2 separate regions of the Homo sapiens genome follow, and region 2 is linked to region 1. Evidence: promoter capture Hi-C in 16 types of primary human blood cells and fetal thymus (Javierre and others, 2016). All regions are on one chromosome and are shown on one strand. The core of a region is centred on a gene start or on the middle of the fragment in contact, and the rest is flanking DNA. Distances in the headings are between cores, read along the strand shown.

Region 1 (3,309 bases), core at 225-2,724:
TGAGGACAGTTAATACCTTACTTGATACACCGTGAAAGGGACGAAAAGTGACCACAGCAGTTCTGAGACCCAGGAGGCATCTGACACCGTCTGAGGGGAGGGCATGAGATGAGGCCTAAGCCAGGGCCAGGGATGGGAAATTTCCCCTTCAAGCCCCAGAGATTCCCTGTTCAACACACACTCACCACAGAGACCAGGGGTCTCTGAACTTGCAGGGTAAGAGGTTGTACCACATCTTGGATAGAAAATGGCCAGGAACTAGAAGAGGAAGGAGAAAGTAGGATGGGAATCCAGCCAGCCTAGTCAGCAGCTCACACCTGCCTTATAACAGGCAACTGTCAAACTCTACAAGCACATAATTGAAGAATGAAGGGATTCAGGAGAAAGAACTTAAAGTGGACAGAAAGGAAATGAACTGGAGATGATGGGGTCTAAGGGCCGAAGAAAGTTGTAAAAACTCAAGGGCCCACAAGCTTGACCACCTACCCAGCTGGCGCCCCATACCTGTGCTAAACCCACCTGAAGCGCAGGAGCCCCTCCCGGCCATTGGTGGCCTCTTCCTCAGGGAATAGCAGCAGAGGAGTGGGGGGAAGCCTCGTGGAAGCACAGAATCTCTTGAGTGACTCCACCAACTCCCCCCGCCCATTCATCTCCATGAAGCCCCGAGACCAGCACACAAAGCTGGGGGGACTATTGAGTAGAGGCTGGGAACCAGGAGAAGAGAAAGCAAGAAGAAAAATATTGAGGAAAATGAAAAAAAAAACTGACATGTTGGGTAGAGGATCGGGGTTAGGGGTAAGGCTCAGTATCCTCCATGGGGAACGCGAGTGGGGACAGGGGGGCCTTCAGCTGGGCCCCAGGGAACCGCCCCGTGGCGCTCTCGGCCTCGCTCTCACTCACGGTGCTACAGGTGGTAAGCAAATTGACTATGTTGTGGTCGAAAGGTGTCACATGGTTGGAAATGAGGACCCTGACACTGTGATCCCGGAGTCCGGAGTCCTCCTGCCGGGCCACGAGCCCTAGCACCGCACACATGGTCCGCACTACGAATCTGGGGACACAGGAGGTGGTGACTGTGTGGCCTCGGGCCAGACCCAGCTCTGACACTCCCCGAACGCCCGCGTCGGAACCTGCGAAGGACGCTGTCTGGCAGCGCGCAGCTGACCAGGAAGACGTGGATCCCGAGAAAGAGGCGCAGGACGAGGAGGCAGAACCCGACTGGCGCGTAGAGCAGCAGCACGAGCAGTAGGAAGCAGTCACCCGGAAGCCTGGGGGCGAGAGGCGAAGTGGTCAGGCGCCGAAGGCCGAGAGCACGCGGGGATCGGTCTCTTCCCGCCGGGTCTCTTACCGGTGCGAGTCAAAGAGCCGCTCCGGCCCCGGCCCTGAGGGAAGCTCCATAACTGCTGCTTCAGGAGCGCCCGGCCGTCGCCGCCGCCGCCATTTTCGCGCCCGGCCGCAGGGGCTCTTGGGAAGGCGGAGTCTTTGGGCATCCGCCCGGGGTGAGGGGACCCGAAGTCCTGAGGCGCGCCGGAAGGGCTAGCGGTCCCAGCATACCCCGCGGCCCCTTGGGCCGTCTCACAACTCGCGTCCGGCGGAGACCACAATTCCCGGCATTCGTGGGGCAGGGAGGAGTCGGCCTCCCGGAATCCTGGTCCCGGCGTGCACTTCTGAAGGACTTCAGGTACCGGCGTGCCCCGCGTCCTACTGTCCGCCTGCTCGCGTCCTGGGTGCCGCCTCTGAGTAGGGCGGGCGAGGAGGCAGCCAAGGCGGAGCTGATGGCTGCGCCGAGGGCGGGGCGGGGTGCAGGCTGGAGCCTTCGGGCATGGCGGGCTTTGGGGGGCATTCGCTGGGGGAGGAGACCCCGTTTGACCCCTGACCTCCGGGCCCTGCTGACGTCAGGAACTTCTGACCCCCGGGCCCGAGTGACTTATGGGACCCCCAGTCTCTGGGCCCGGTTGTCTGTTGGGGTCACTGAACCCCGAGCATGCCTGACGTCTGGGACCCCGGGTCCCCGGGCACAACTGACTGCGGTGACCCCAGATACCAGGACCCGGGAGGCCTCAGAGAACTCTGGAACCCGTTCGCGCGCGTGGCTGGCGGTGGCGCTGGGCGCTGGGGGGGCAGTGCTGTTGTTGTTGTGGGGCGGGGGTCGGGGTCCTCCGGCCGTCCTCGCCGCCGTCCCTAGCCCGCCGCCCGCTTCTCCCCGGAGTCAGTACAACTTCATCGCAGATGTGGTGGAGAAGACAGCACCTGCCGTGGTCTATATCGAGATCCTGGACCGGTAATGGTGGGGGTAGACCGGGAGGCACTGAAGCCACAGGCTGGAGGGCGGGCGGGTAGGAGGGGTCAGAGCCTCCTCTTATCTGTGCTTTCCCTCCATTTCAGGCACCCTTTCTTGGGCCGCGAGGTCCCTATCTCGAACGGCTCAGGATTCGTGGTGGCTGCCGATGGGCTCATTGTCACCAACGCCCATGTGGTGGCTGATCGGCGCAGAGTCCGTGTGAGACTGCTAAGCGGCGACACGTATGAGGCCGTGGTCACAGCTGTGGATCCCGTGGCAGACATCGCAACGCTGAGGATTCAGACTAAGGTGGGGGCTGGGGTAGGCCAGGTCTGGTTGGAGCTGCTTATTTGCTCGCATCTTCAGATGACAGGTCTCTTTTACCCATTCTCCCTTAGGAGCCTCTCCCCACGCTGCCTCTGGGACGCTCAGCTGATGTCCGGCAAGGGGAGTTTGTTGTTGCCATGGGAAGTCCCTTTGCACTGCAGAACACGATCACATCCGGCATTGTTAGCTCTGCTCAGCGTCCAGCCAGAGACCTGGGACTCCCCCAAACCAATGTGGAATACATTCAAACTGATGCAGCTATTGATGTGCGTCCTGATAGGAGAGAAATGACAAATGATGGGGGAGGGGGGAGAGGCTGTGTGGTACAAGCACCAACTGATATATGGTGGATGAGCCTATATAGAGCTTAGGCTGCAAAAATGTGGCCACTTATTCATGGGCTGAGAAAGAAGAGAATTTGGAGAAAGTACCTACATCCTGGTATGCCCCCAGACTTAGAATCCCCAGATCTCTTTCATGTTTTCTCCTTGTCCTACAGTTTGGAAACTCTGGAGGTCCCCTGGTTAACCTGGTGAGTGAGACATCCTTCCTTCCAAGAATCCCTGCCCCAGGTCAGTGTGGGAAGGGTAGGTTTCCCCTAATTCAAGGATGTTTGGTCAAGTTTCTGAGCAGTTCTTTGTTGGCTATCTCTCAATATCCAACCAGATCTCCCCAACACTTGCTGGTACTTTTGTTCGGGT
Region 2 (3,309 bases), core at 494-2,993, 550 kb before region 1:
TGCACATAGCAGGATTGTACTTATTGCACTTCCCTGCCCCCTTGTAACTTTCTTTGGCCAGTGAGATGACAGCAGGAGTGATGTGTGTCACTTCCAGGGAAAAGCTTTAAGAGCCAGTGCTAGATTTGCCCCATTCTTGTTTCCTGCCTTCAGGGTTGAGGAGATGCATGTCCAGTTGCAGCAGCCTGGATGCCCGAGTGATTACGGGAAACAGAGCTCCTAATGACTCATAATGGACACGTTTTGTGATTGAGAAATACACTTTTGTTATGTAAAGCCACTGTGATTTGGGGATTGTCTATTACTCCAGCACAATCTAACTGATCCTGACTGATACACCCTGTCAACCAAGGCTCAGGGGCACCAAGGCCTTTATCCCTGTTGGGTATTCCTTCCATTATGATGGGTACCCTTGCATTCTCCTTGCAAGTAATGAAGCCTATTTGATTCAAAAAATTCAAAATGCAGTCACAAAACTAGTTATAAAACATGAGGACATTTGCGGGGCTATTGAAAAACGTAGTAGCCGGGCGCGGTGGCTCACTCATGTAATCCCAGCAGTTTGGGAGGTCGAGGTGGGTGGATCATGAGGTCAGGAGTTCAAGACCAGTCTCTACTAAAACTACAAAAATTAGCTGGGCGCGGTGGCAGGTGCCTGTAATCCCAGCTACTCGAGAGTCTGAGGCAGGAGAATCATTTGAACCTGGGCAGCAGAGGTTACAGTGAGCCCAGATCGCGCCACTGCACTTCAGCCTGGGTGACAAGAGTGAGACTCCATCTCAAAGAAAAAAAAAAAACCAAAACCCAAAACCAAAACAAAACAAAAAACCCAAAAACGCATAGCATAGATATCCTACACGTGTCACACTCACCAATGCAGGTCCACAAGCAACCCACTAATGAACCTCCCTTTCCCTGAGAGCAAAATGCCAGCTTCTGCCTGGTATCAGCTCTAGCATTCGTGGGCTAATTTCAGAGGTCCTGGATTGTAGGTCCTGGATTCTGACATGTAGTAGTGAATGACCTTGGACAAATTACCTCACTGAGCGCCAGTTCTCTTATCTGTAAAATGGTGATGATAATAAAAACTATGTCATAGATAAGGAAAGTTAACATTTGCACATTTGTTGTATTTGCCACTCTGTGCAGACAGAAGGATAATGTGTGTGGAAGTGCTTTGAAAAGGGAAAGATCTATGCAAATATTAGTTGATAATATTTTTAGCCAATACATGACCAAAGAAGTAATACATCCAAAATCAAATAAACCTCCCAATACCTTCAGTCTTTAAAACCAAGCCCAGGTATGGATATCGGGATGTATTTACATTTCTGCAAAAGGTCCCCATACGCAAATCTCATTCTTAAATAAGGACAAATTACTCATTAGCTGAAGAGGAGAGAGGTCAAGTACCTGAGGAGGTTAGTCACATCAATCACCTGAGAGTTCAGCAGCATCCAACAGTGTTAGTTCCACGTGTTAACTTCCTGAAGAACCACAGGCTTGCACATCCAATTATGCTTCCTGTCCCTTTCCTCCCCCGTGCGGAATCAACTTCAGCTCATCAATGGGGTAGGAAAGCCTCCTTATTTCGCACCCTCCATGCTCCAGGCATCCAGGGAAATGCCCCTGCCACCCCTATCTCCCTTGAGTTCTTAGGGCTTCCTCCTCTAGCAAGGAGATTTCCCTTTCTAGTCCCGGGGGCAGCGGCACAGCCCGGCTCTGACCTCGCGGGAGCAGTCGCCTAAAAGAGGCTCCGCCCTTGGCCGCTTGGGGTGGCGCCCGCCAAACCCGCTCCTAAAAGGAGCCTCTCTCCCTCTGTCTGCTCTAAGCGCCTTGGGGGCCTAATCGCAGTCTCCACCTGGGTGCTGAACTTCCTTCTCCCCCGCTTGCTGTAGTCCAGTGCTGCTCTAACTTGACTTCACCTGACGGACTAATTAAAACAGATTGCTGGGCCCGCCCCCAGGGTTTCTGATTCAGTGGGGTTAGGATGGGGCCGAGAGCTTGCATTTCTAGCCAGTTCCCAGGAGATGGTGATGCTGCTGGTGCCGGGGCTCTCTTGGCGGAACCACTGCGTCTAGGCTAATGCAGCCCCAGGAAGGGCTCGCCCTATCCCTACGCCCACCCCCGCTGCTCTCCTGCCCTGAGCGCAATGTGAATGGGAATAGCCGCAGCAGCCCAGGAGGCTGGAGAACCAGAAGGCAGGACCTGAGGAGTTTAGGCTGTTTTATCTTGGGCGCCCCTGACCAGTTTGTGCAAGTCGTAAAGAAAGCAGGAAAGAAGCCTATGGGTCTTCAGTGTTACTGGGGTCTGTCATTCATTAGGGTCTACTCACCTCGTCTCTTCATTCAACACAGTGGTTGGTTGCTAGGTCTAGGGTTATGAGGTGAAAGACAGCGTGCTACCCTTCCAGGAGTTTGTAGTAACTGGGAAAGAAACATGCAAACCATTCCAGTGCCCAGCGCCGATGAGATAACTGTTCCTAGGCAGGGAGAGTCAAACTTCTGTGGAGGGAGAGTGGGTGGGGCTCTGGAATCATCTGAGCAGCTGGAGGTTTCATGGAACTGGCACTTATGACTTGCAGGATGAGTGGGAATTTGGCAGGTACAAGGGGTAGCTGAGAAGGGGTGGGGTGGGAAGGGTTTTTCCCCAGGCAGAAGGAATGAGCAACAGGACTGCCGAAGTGTAAGGTTCCAGAGGCCGGGAAGATATGACAGGCAGCTCTCTAGCCTGGCTGGGTTCCCTCCAACCTCTCTGGCGGCGCCTTCTCAGCTCCTGTCCCTCATGGGCTGGTATTCCCTGGGGCTCTGTCCTGGCAGCCTTTCCCTCTCACACTCCATATCCACCCTGGATGAGCTCCTCCACAACTGAGGCCTCGCTGTCTGCTCACTGATGGGGCCCAAATCTCAAACCCAGGCCTCACCCCCTCAGTTGCACACTCACTTTCACACGAATGTCTCCATCCCCAGGCATCCTTCCTTCTGCATTTTGTCACAGTGAATGGCACCAGCATTCACCCAGTTACCTAAACGAGAGGGCTTTATGAAATGACCCTCTCATAGATTGCTGGCAAAGAGTAAATGACACAGTAACTTGCTGGTGCCATTTACCCAGACAGAATACAAGAGGATGGCTGCTGGGCTCCTCTGAAAGTCCACAACTTACTAGCTGAGTGATCCTGGGCAAGTTATTTAATCTGTTTTCTTATCCATAAAATGGGTTTGATGATAGTACCTACCTCACAAGGTTGTCATATGGATTAAACAATATTAGTTGTTGTCATTCATTGAGCCCTATATTAAGTCTTTT

The links. Contacts are between HindIII fragments. The CHiCAGO score rates a contact against its expected background, and 5 or more counts as called.
Region 2: a contact is called between the fragment with the promoter of DGUOK-AS1 here and the fragment with the promoter of AUP1 in region 1, in 1 of 17 cell types (fetal thymus). The highest score is 7.2, in fetal thymus.

What each region holds. Positions count from the first base shown.
Region 1 is chr2:74,528,232-74,531,540 of GRCh38, forward strand. AUP1 (AUP1 lipid droplet regulating VLDL assembly factor) reads right to left here and starts at 1,475. Exons shown (of 12, transcript NM_181575.5): 1 at 1,349-1,475; 2 at 1,131-1,268; 3 at 901-1,051; 4 at 520-704; 5 at 186-258; 6 at 17-90. The coding sequence starts at 1,398. It overlaps HTRA2 (HtrA serine peptidase 2), which reads left to right and starts at 1,702. Exons shown (of 8, transcript NM_013247.5): 1 at 1,702-2,281; 2 at 2,386-2,590; 3 at 2,680-2,874; 4 at 3,108-3,140. The coding sequence starts at 1,776. RefSeq lists enhancers at 919-1,748, 921-1,803, 2,259-2,388, 2,409-2,478, 2,509-2,588 and 1 more and a silencer at 1,779-1,868. The HindIII fragment of the contact is 3,652 bases long and covers 472-3,309 here.
Region 2 is chr2:73,979,696-73,983,004 of GRCh38, forward strand. It overlaps DGUOK-AS1 (DGUOK antisense RNA 1), which reads right to left and starts at 1,744. Exons shown (of 2, transcript NR_104030.1): 1 at 1,440-1,744. The HindIII fragment of the contact is 8,489 bases long and covers 103-3,309 here.